3 separate regions of the Homo sapiens genome follow, and all the other regions are linked to region 3. Evidence: promoter capture Hi-C in 16 types of primary human blood cells and fetal thymus (Javierre and others, 2016). All regions are on one chromosome and are shown on one strand. The core of a region is centred on a gene start or on the middle of the fragment in contact, and the rest is flanking DNA. Distances in the headings are between cores, read along the strand shown. Region 1 overlaps RAD51AP1 (RAD51 associated protein 1). Region 2 overlaps AKAP3 (A-kinase anchoring protein 3). Region 3 holds the start of FKBP4 (FKBP prolyl isomerase 4).

Region 1 (3,732 bases), core at 185-2,684, 1.7 Mb after region 3:
CTGTGAGAAACAGTAATGGACTGGAAAAGAACATCCTTTTGCAAGAAAATAAGAAGTTACTTTGGTAGGATCTTAGGAAGATCATTATGGTAATGGAAAGAGAAAATACTACTATTGTAAAAATCCTCAAATAGGAGCTACTTTCTCTTCCCCCCATAATGCTTATTTCCTCTAGCATGGTTAATGTACTAGGAATAGGTAATGGGCTTTTTTTTCTCTTTTTTTTGAGACGGAGTCTCACTCTTGCACCTAGGCTAGAGTGCAACAGCGCGATCTTGGCTCACTGCAACCTCTGCCTCCCAGGTTCAAGCGATTCTCCCACCTCACCTCCTGAGTAGCTGGGATTATAGGTGTCCGCCACCATGCCTGGCTAATTTTTGTATTTTTTAGTAGAGACAGGGTTTCACCACTTTGGCCAGGCTGGTCTTGAACTCGTGACTTCAGGTGATCTGCCCGCCTTGGCCTCCCAAAGTGCTGGGATTACAAGTGTGAGCCACTGTGCCTGGCCCAAGTAATGGGCTTTGAAAAAAGATATTTGGCTACATTGTGAAGTTCCCATAAAAATAATTTATTTCCACTTTTCAATGTGATTAAATTCTACCAATTTTTCTAATGGTTTTACAGGTTTTTAATCATTTTTTCTTTGACACTTATATGCTGTCTTAATTGCTTTTGCAGTTTTTAGTGAATTGGTTTTTGATAGACTGATATTTTTAAATATAAAGGGCACAAAAACAAAAGTCGAAATAGATAAATGAGAGTAAAGATAAACAAAATACTAACAATGATTTTTAAATTGTGGAAATTAAACAATTTGCCTAGCCTATAAAAACTTGAACACACATGGTAATGATTTTCATTTATGAAGAAAATAATATTTTTCTTTTGGTTTTAATTCACACATGAATAGATGATTTTGTTTCTGCAACTGTACCTTTAAACAAGAAATCCAGAACAGCACCAAAGGAGTTAAAACAAGATAAACCAAAACCTAACTTGAACAATCTCCGGAAAGAAGAAATCCCAGTACAAGAGAAAACCCCTAAAAAAAGGTGAGAGGTAAGACATGCAGTAAATATATGACATTAGATGTGTTAATTTTAAAGAGACACAGATTCGAACCCTTGATTTAAATTAGAACTTGGGCAGAGTCATAGGTCTTATTTTACTAGGTGCAGTCAGAAAACAGGACGTACTATTTTTTTCTGGCTTTCTGACTTAAAGAAATTCACAAACATTCAAGGAAGTATCATTAAATATTAAGACAATAATGATTGTAGAATTCAGAAGTTATGACTGGTTTTGACAGGACCCAGCACTTATCTCTGAATTCCTCAAATCATACGAGACTACTTTGTTAAAAATGACATTAGATGACTTAAGATGATTAAGACACAAGATGACTTAATATGAGGACAGTTTTTAAAATATAAAACCATGTATTTTCTTGCAGAAAAAGATGTCTTCTCCCCATGTTGTTAAGATTTATCCAGCAGTGAGAAGTTCCCATAGTTTCTAGACTAACCGTGGAATTCCATTAGATAGTATCAAGAGGCAGAAAGGAGTGAAGGAAGTCCTTAGAGACCCAAAACTTGCAGTATGGAGAAGAGATGGGCGGAAGGGGAATATTAACAAATGGAACATGGCATATATAATGTTTTACTGCCACAAGTTTCTCTATGAAAAGTGAGTTAGCCTGGAGAAACTTACCTCATGTCATGCTCTTTTTTGCTTTTCTTTTTTTTGGTTTTTGTTTGTGAGTTTCTTGTATTACATTTTAAATATATAGAAAAAGGAACCCACACGTGGGAGAAAATATTTGTAAATCAGATAACTGATAAGGGACTGTATCCAGAGTATACACAGAACTCGTAAAACTCAACAGTAAAAAGACTAACAACACAATTTAAAATGTGCAAAAGATTTCAATAGACTTTCTCCAGAGAAGATAAACAAATAACCAATAAACACATGAAAAGATGCTCAATATCATTAGCTGTGAGGGCAATGCAAATCAAAATCAGAATGAGATAATACTTCACACCCACTAGATGACTTAATACAAAAGACAAGGAATGTGGAGAAATTTGAACCCTCATATATTGCTGGTGGGAAAGTAAAATGGTGCAGCTAAATTGGAAAATGGTTTAGCAGTTCCTCAAAATGTTAAACAGAGTTATTACATGACCCAGCCTATGTATGTATCCAAGAGAAATGAAAACATATGCCCACACAAAAACCCATACATGAATGTTCACAGCAACATTATTCATAATAGCTAAAAAAAAATGGAGGCAATCTAAATGTCTATCTGCTAATGAATGGATAAGTAAAATGTGGTTTCCACAAAATGGAATATTTTTCAGCCATAGAAAGAAATGACAACTGATAACTGATATATACTGCAATATGGATGAACCTTGGAAACATCATTCTGAGTGAAAGAAGCCAGATATACAGGTCACATATTACATGATTTCATTTGCATGAAATGTCCAGAATAGGCAAATCCATAGAAACGGAAAGCAGATTAATGGTTGCTAGGAGGGGAGAGGGGTAAACAGGAAGTGAATGCTAATGGGTATGGGGTTTCTTTTTGGGGTAATAAAGATGTTCTGAAATTAGGTAGTGTTGGTGGTTTTACAGCTCTGTGAATGTACTAAAAACTGCTGAATTGTTTACTTTAAAAGGTAAACTTTATGATATGTGAATTATATCTTAAGAAAACTGTTATTCTAAAAAAATAAATTCTTTAAGGTACATCTCAGTGCTTCTTCCTTTATGTAACTTTTCCTTATCTGTCTTTGACGTTTTCTTCCTCTTATACTCCATAGCACTTTTGAGCAGCTTGAATAGGACTTTATAGTCTGCCTTTTATAGGATAATTATTAGCATGTCTTGTTTCCCCACCCTCCTCCTTTAATTGCAGACTCCCTGAAGGTACTTTTAGTATTCCAGCTAGTGCAGTGCCTTGTACAAAGTAAGTGCTTGGTAAAATATTTGTTAAAGTCTGGATTGGGAGGAAGAGATGTAAAAAAATGATAATAATTTTAATTTAATGTAAGAGCTATAAAATCTGCTAAAGGGGAGTGGGTGAGGTCAAGGAAGAGTTTTAAGTGGAAGTGATGTTTGAACCAAGTCTGTTTTGGGTTGAGTAGGGTGTTTCCCACCTGGACACAGCTGGTAGTAAGGTGACACATTACAATGAAAGGGAACAGTCATTGCAAAGAGGCACATGGTCCTCCTATTTCAAACCTCTTATTCTGTATGTAACATGATACTGTGACATTTTAGGAGTCTTATCTTATCATCAAAGGTCTATTAATGATGATTGTTTAAAAACATTTTTGCGAAGTTAGCAACTCTTGAATAGTAATTTGGAGAAATCTCAAACTTTGCTCTTTAGTTGAGATTGATATTTTGAAGAACTCATTATTACTTGTGTATCTATTTTAGGATGGCTTTAGATGACAAGCTCTACCAGAGAGACTTAGAAGTTGCACTAGCTTTATCAGTGAAGGAACTTCCAACAGTCACCACTAATGTGCAGAACTCTCAAGATAAAAGTAACTTTATTTTCTGTATATTTAGCTTTAAAACCTTCTTAATGCTTTTGTGATTATTTGTTTGGGTGGGCCTTCACAGAGGAAACAGGTAAAATGTGAATACTTTGCACTATAAATAGACCCATTTGCAGAGAATACGATTGGATTTAGTTCTTAATTCAGCTGC
Region 2 (3,688 bases), core at 429-2,928, 1.8 Mb after region 3:
CATCCATGAAATATTTTCTAGATACCTAATGAATGTGATTGCTCCCTCATTGAAGTTTCCATCATATTTTGTTTCAATGTGTACATTCTATCTAGTAGTTTAATTGCTCCCATGTATTTCATTTTCTTTACTGGATGACTTCATAAGGGGAGAGGCATTTTCCTATTCATCTTGGTATGCCTTATAGTAGCTAGTATCTTAAAATTGGAGCTCAATAATTATCTGCTGGAAGAATGAATATGCACCACCTGCCCATTTTCAGATAGTTCATTTTTCCTTTTGGATTGGAGAATCCAAGGACAAAAAAACAGACGGCTTGCTCAAATTTACTATGGCGGTTACTATGGCGGTAATCCATATATTCAAGACGCCTTGAAGCTTGACTCCTTTGGGAGATACGTTCACCGCACAGACTTACTCAGTGATTTACTAACAGACCTTCCTATTCCACTAGTACAAATAAATCAACATCTTAAAAGTGCTTTTGTATTTTTTTCATGAAAGCATAACTACTAGTCAAATATATTCAGCAAACACTTCACTTAAATATATTCTAATGTTTTAATTCTATTTTCTAGGTCCTATGAGTGGGTTTAGCTGCATCATGAAGCTTGTTTTGGACTTTTAAAACTTCCTGTCTGTCCTAGATGACAGCATCTATAAAGAGGTACTTTAAAACTTATTAATGATAATGACATTCAGATTTCTAAATCAATGTTTCTCATAATAAAAGTGGAAAAGAAGGAAGATCTAAAGAGTTTAATGAAGTCAGTGAATGGATTCATAAATTGCTATAAGTTTAAAAGCTGGTAAATAATATCCTGGAGTTAGGGTAGAAAAAAAAAAGAGAAAATGATACTTTGTGTTATCTATTAAAGATAAATGGACCTCAGAAACCATGTTTTCTAATACTCTCAGCTTATAGATTAGGATATTGAGGCTCAGAAAGGAAATACTAGAATCAGCAGATATATTCCTTTAGATATTCCAGCCCTGATAACATTCTGGCAGCTGTGAAATTTTCCCATGGCAAGTAGAAGGATTGGACTAAAATGTTTCTCAAAAATGTCAATGTGATGATTACTTCAAGTTGAGGAGGAGTGCAAACCTGAATGCCAGTCATGAAAGGCATAAGCAACATAGGGGCTTGGTTATGGTCGTTATATCCTAGACCATAGCTCTATCTCAAGGCAGTTTTCTCCTGTATCCATTTTAAGTGAGAGGCTCCTGTTTACCCAAGGTTCCTAAACTCATGTAAAAACTCAGATTGCAGAAGCGAAAGCATAAGCAAAGTTCTTGCAGGGTTGCTAAGTACTTGATCGAGTTTTGAGGTTCATTCAACCAGGTTTTATTACTAGTTTTGAGAGGGAACAGTATGTTTCTCATATCCGTTTTCTTTTACTGCCTTCCTTTCTGTAAGTGCCTGCTACATCGTAGAAGCTCAATAAACTTGGTTGCTGATTAAATAAGAATTTCAATCGATTTTCTTTAAATAAAGATTTGTGTGTGTGTGTGTCTCAATGGCACCATTCATTGTTAAGCTTTCCGGTGGAAAGTCTTTATTTTTACCTTCCCTAAGTAAGAGCTTCTTCTTCTAGTCCCTGTTAGTATAGATACTTTCACCACATAGCTATAGATATCCTGCCCTTTCCCAGTTCTGTTGTCTAACCAAGACTTCAGAAATAACAGTGAGAAGATAAAAGTGTATGAGAATTGGACTCGGGGTTATACCAGTTCTATTTTGCTCTTGGGGCACTGGAAAGAAAATAAATTTAGGAATGGCCACACAATGACTAGGAAAAGTCAGTAGGTAGTCAAGCTTCTACTCTATCAAATGGGGAAGCAGGAAGTAAGGCCCCTCATGTCTCCAAAAGGATAGCTGAGGAGATCTTGTCAAATCTGTAACCAAATCACAATGTCAGCAGCAAAGATGGTAGGTTTGACTTTAAAGCTGCTGAAGGAGAGGTTCACTTATTTCCAGAGGACTCACAGGTAAAATTAAAATTGGCTGAGCAGGCCAGGCATGGCGACTCACACCTGTAATCCCATTACTTTGGGAGGCCGAAGTGGAGGGGATCACTTGAGGTCAGGAGTTTGAGACCAGCCTGGCCAACATGGCGAAAACCTGTCTCTACTAGAAATACAAAAAATTAGCCAGGTGAGATGGTGGATGCCTGTAATCTCAGCTACTCGGGAGTCTGAGGCAGAGGAATCACTTGAATCCAGGAGGTGGAGGTTGCAGTGAGCCGAGATTGCAGCACTGCACTCCAGTTGGGCAACAGAGTGAGACTCCATCTCAAACAAAAAAAAAATCAGCTGGACAGAAGAACAACGCTAGGTTGAACATAACAATTTTCCTATCACTTGTCATTGAATTCTCCCTTCCAACCACAGAGGATCAGAAAATGGGCTGTTTTATCAGTCCAGTAAGATTACCTACCTCTGTAGTACTGGAATAGTGAACCACGGAAGACTCCAGAATATACTTTTAAAGTCAATGAAGATGCTGGGATGTTCTTGCTCAGCTCAAGATCTTGTTTCTTCCTGTGGCCTTCCATGTACCTCCCCCTTGCTGGGACTGGAGAGTGACATCAGAATCACAATTGGTGATATCACTGTCTCTATAGCAACAGTAGTGAGGCTACCAGAAAATGAATGGTCAACAGGACAAAGAGGAGGGGTGAAGATATACTCCAAGGGGCTGATGTTTAGTTTAGAAGGACTGGGCTTTATTCTGATTAATTCTCTCTTTAGAGCAGTGGTCCCCAAACTTTTTCACACCAGGGACCAGTTTTGTGAAAGACAATTTTTCCACGGATGGGAGTGGGGTGGGAGTATGGTTTCTGGATGATTCAAGCACATTACATTTGTTGTGCACTCTATTTCTACTATTATGCCATAATATAGAATCAGTGGGAGTCCTGTCTTCCTGCAACTAGATGGTCTCATCTGGGGATGGTGGGAGACAGCGACAGATCATCAGGCACTAGATTCTCATAAGGAGTGCACAACGTACACTTTCCACAATAGGGTTCAAGCTCCTATGAGAATCTAATGCCACCACTGATCTGACAGGAGGTGGAGCTCAGCTTTGCTCACTTGCTCACCATTTACCTGCTGTGTGGCCAGGTTCTAAAAGACCATGGACTGGTACCGGTCCATGGCCTGAGGGTTGGGGACCTCTGCTTTAGAGTGTTTAATATAGGTGGGGGAATACGGGAAGGGGACATTTTGCCAATGGATTCCACTTAAAGCAGCAGAGTAAGTATTATGTATTAACAAATCTAGAGGACGGCAGAGGAGAATGAGAAATAAAAGAATTGAGGGTCTAAATTTTATGCATATCCCATGGAATCACTTCATTTTGTCAGATCCAGCCAGGACTCTTTTTATTTATAAGCATCTTGCCTTCTGTAAAAAAATTATTTTTAGGATATTTTGCCTAAACTGACCATCTCTGGGTTATAATTTGTCTTAGATCTTCAGAGATACAATAACCCTATTTTATCATTTGCAATGCCTGACCTGAGAAACTGTAGTGGGAAAAATCACACCAAGAGGCATTTGGTTAGCTACTCTTTCTATGCTTTATTACTACATTCTCTGAAAATGTTACCTCAGCTACTCTGTAATTAATGATTAAATATAGGACTAGTATATAGTTTCCATGGAGCAAAAAGAAATTCCA
Region 3 (3,718 bases), core at 948-3,447:
CCCTCTTGCCCTTCCCTGTCTCACAGACCTCTGTTTTCTTAGCCCTTTGTCCCCATCTCCACTGCAGCGCCTATCAGATCACACTAAAACGACCGTTATTTACCAGCTGCGGAGTTGGAGGCGAGGACTGAGCTAGATACCATACACAGATTCCCGCTTTTTTAACCATTAAATCACCCTCTTTTACAAATGTTACTATCTCTATTTTACAGACAAGAAATCGAGACATGAAGATTAACTAACCTGCCCCAATTTAAACAGCTAACATAACACATGGGCCGCCCAACGTCCCTTACTCCAAAGCACATGCTCATTCCACTAGGGTATTAGGCTATGTGTTAATGTAACGGCAGGCAATCTGAAGGGCTCCACTATGTACGTGCCGAACAGAATTAAAGGGGGGGTCCCACACTGTCCGCTTCCGATGAAGAAAAAGACGCAGAAAAGAAACCGCCACACGTGGAGAATCAGTAGGTGCAAGCCAAGGACAGTTTGCGGTAAACTGCCACCCCGGAAGCCAGCACCCACCATCCTGGTCTCCCGGAGTTTGGGTGACCCCTGGCACTGTTACTTCTGCATAAAAGTAGTGGATTTAACCCCTACAGAGGCAGCGCCCCGTATCCTCTGAAGCTGTCTCCAGCCACCTAAAGAGACGTCTTCATTATGGCTCAACTCATTTGGGCTGTAAATTGCTGAAGCGAAGGGCTTTTTCTTCTGCATCCCTTTCAAGTTCCGTCGGCAGGGACTACAATAAATCATCACATTATGACGCTGAAAGTTCATCTCTAAAAAGCTTTCAATTTAGTTTGATGAGACTAATGGCGTCCAATCGCACAGTGCCGGGCACATAACGGGAAGTCCAAAAATACAGTTATTATTGGAATAAAAATTCAGGCTGGGCGCAGTGGCTCACGCCTGTAATCCGAGAACTTTGGGAGGCCGAGGCGGGCGGATCATTTGAGACCAGATGTTCGAGACCAGCCTGGGCAACATGGCGAAACCCCGTCTCTACTAAAAATACAAAAATTAGTCGGCGTGGTGGCGGACGCCTGTAGTCCCGGCTACAGAGAGCCAAGATCGCACCACCGCACTGCAGCCTGGGCGACAGAGCAAGACCCTGTCTCAAAAAAAAAAAAAAAAGAAAAAAAAATCAGCCAAGACTTGGAAAAAGAAATTTAAAAAAGGAAAATTCATGCAGCCAGTAACTATTGGGACATCACTCACCAGGCACTATGCTAAACTGGGGTTAGGTGCTGAGCAAAACCAGGCCCCTCTCTAGATGGCTCTCTAGGTCCCACGACCATAGCTTAGGTGACACCGGCACCTGCGCGCTCCACAGCCTGTCGAAAAACACTCGGGAAGCAAACATTGAGAAGAAAATACTCCTTCTGTGGGCCTTTAGGAAAACCGAGTGACTTTTTTCGTGAGGGGAACCCATCTTTGTAAGCATTCGCGGAAACGGCAGTTTTATTACCGCCGGGAAGGGTCCCCTGAGTGTGTGCCCCATCTGAGTTCCGAGCTGGGCGGGCCATGCCTTGCCAACCCCGCTGCTCGCAGCATCTGCAGGCGCTGAGCGAGGCATCGCTGCCTGGCCGGGGCTTCTCGGATCTGGGGAAATCGAGGTCGCTTTCCCCGGCTCTCTGCAGCGGGGCAGCGCTGTCCACTCACTCCCCGCTCCCCGCGCACGCCCTTGCCCTCTTTCCCCCAAGTAGGGAAGGGTCTACGCGGGTCATAGCAGAGAGGCCACGCCGCCCGTGGTGACGGCCGGTCCCGGGGAGGGGGCGCCGCCACTGCCATCCCGCAGCCTGCGCTCCCCACACCCCGCCGCAGGCGCAGCGGACTGGTGGAGTGATGTCGGGAGATCGATCGAGAAGAATCTGGAAGAATCCGGTTAGACAGGGAAGCGGGCGGGGATGGGAGGGAGGGAGGAAGGGCCAAGGGAGGCCGCCGGGGAGATCCCGAGTCCGAGGGTCCCAGGAGAAGGGGGAGGGGGCAGGCAGCCAGAAGGAGGCAAGAACCAAAAAAAAAAAAAGAAAAAAAAATTCCGAAGCGCCCGCAGCACTGAGCCCGAACCGGCTCAGTCCCGCCGTCTCTAGAAAGTTCTGCACCCCGCCCCCTCTGTCTGCGCTCCCGCTCCTCCCAGCCCCTCCCTCGCGGCGGGGCGGGACCAATCGCTCCCCGAGCCGCTCCTGACCCACCTACCCCAGCTCTCGCGCCGCGTGCAGAGGTGCTCAAGCCTCCTCGCGGTCCGCAGTCAGTGCCGCCGCGCCCGGCCTCCCGCACGCCCCGCAGGTAGCGCCCCCGCCCGCGGCCCAGAGTGCGCTCGCGCCGGCACCAGCTCCCGGATAAACGGCGCGCCGCGCGGAGATGACAGCCGAGGAGATGAAGGCGACCGAGAGCGGGGCGCAGTCGGCGCCGCTGCCCATGGAGGGAGTGGACATCAGCCCCAAACAGGACGAAGGCGTGCTGAAGGTGAGGGGCGGCGGGGCCTGCGGAGGCGTCGGAACCCGGGGCCCCGCGGGCCGCCCTTCCGCCGCGCCCGGAGCCCGCGGCCGGGCACGGGTCGAGGCGGCCGCCTTTGCAGCCTCGCGGCCGTCCCGCCGGGGGCCGGTGGCATCGCCGTCCCGGACCGGGCTGCGTCGTTTAAGGCACCGAGGCCGGCCATGCGCTCGGCAGGGGGGCGGCCTAGGTGCGCGGGCCGAGGCCCCAGGCTCCCCAGCCGGCAGCGCCCGGGCCCGGGCAGGGGGTCGGGATTGCAGTGCCCACCCCGGCGCGCGCGGGGCGGCGGAGAGGGGCGGGGCGAGGCGACCGCCGCGGGCACCCGAGCCGCAGCCCGGGGCCAGGCCGGGCCTCCCACGCCACGCCGCCCCCGACCTCGCGGCCCCAGCGGAGCTGCCAGCCGCGGGCCGCCTCGTTGGTGGCGGTGCCAGGGCTCGCCCACCCGGGCGGTGGAACACGGGCCAGGACGGGGAGCGACTCCCCACAGTGCTTTCCTGGCCCTTCGGCCTTTGTGCGACGCAGGCGCGACAGGGTTCCGGCGCCCTCCCGGGGTCCCCTGCCGACGCCGGGACCCAGCGAGGTCCCCACTCGCCGCGCGGCGCCCCCTCCCTCGGCCCCGGGGAGGCCGGGCGCGGGGCATGCCGGGAGCTGTAGTCCCCTCCCCCCTCCGCCGCCTCCCGGAGCCAGGGCTGCGGGGTGTGGGGCGGGGAGGAGGCGCTCTGCTGTGGAGCCTGCCGCCGAGTGACCGCTCGACTACAAATAGCCTGGGGAGCTGCGGGGAGGGCATCTTGACCTGGGCCAGGACAACCTGCCTTGGGTCGGAGCAGGTTCCAGGGAGAATCAGAGATGGTGAATTCCCAGCCTGCGTCTTATGCCTTCTCCCCATCCGCTGCTGCGTCCTCATCCTGGCTTCCCACCGCTGAGCTCCGCGTGTGCGGCACCCACCTCAGGGGGCCTTTACCTGGTCCAGAAGTGCATCTGTCTTTGCACCAGATTATTGGGGACCTCAAGCGTCTGCTCCAGCGGCTCTCCTGTGGCATGTGACTTCCCCTTCTCGCTCCAGCGTCCTGCCGTTTTCTACGAGATTGTTATTCCAGGAAAGCTCATTTCCCCTTTGATCCATCATTCCTTCCCTTTTACCTTTCTACTCCTCAAAGCCCCTGTCTATTCTTCGTGGAAGCTTTCCCTTGGAGGGTAACCACACACCTACCAGGTGGCG

The links. Contacts are between HindIII fragments. The CHiCAGO score rates a contact against its expected background, and 5 or more counts as called.
Region 1: a contact is called between a fragment that was not itself captured here and the fragment with the promoter of FKBP4 in region 3, in 1 of 17 cell types (neutrophils). The highest score is 5.9, in neutrophils.
Region 2: a fragment that was not itself captured here is called in contact with the fragment with the promoter of FKBP4 in region 3 in 1 of 17 cell types (naive CD4 T cells); the score reaches 5.7 in naive CD4 T cells.

What each region holds. Positions count from the first base shown.
Region 1 is chr12:4,542,853-4,546,584 of GRCh38, forward strand. It overlaps RAD51AP1 (RAD51 associated protein 1), which reads left to right. Exons shown (of 9, transcript NM_006479.5): 3 at 911-1,052; 4 at 3,457-3,566. Among named protein-coding and RNA genes, the nearest start is that of RAD51AP1, 5.8 kb to the left of the region's middle. The HindIII fragment of the contact is 4,691 bases long and covers 1-3,732 here.
Region 2 is chr12:4,642,615-4,646,302 of GRCh38, forward strand. AKAP3 (A-kinase anchoring protein 3) reads right to left here. Exons shown (of 6, transcript NM_001278309.2): 2 at 2,441-2,578. Among named protein-coding and RNA genes, the nearest start is that of AKAP3, 4.6 kb to the right of the region's middle. The HindIII fragment of the contact is 278 bases long and covers 1,540-1,817 here.
Region 3 is chr12:2,792,773-2,796,490 of GRCh38, forward strand. FKBP4 (FKBP prolyl isomerase 4) reads left to right here and starts at 2,198. Exons shown (of 10, transcript NM_002014.4): 1 at 2,198-2,472. The coding sequence starts at 2,368. The region is part of intron 2 of ITFG2-AS1 (ITFG2 antisense RNA 1); the gene reads right to left. RefSeq lists enhancers at 1,077-1,622, 1,623-2,167, 3,661-3,718 and silencers at 2,017-2,396, 2,427-2,486, 2,837-3,246. The HindIII fragment of the contact is 2,886 bases long and covers 792-3,677 here.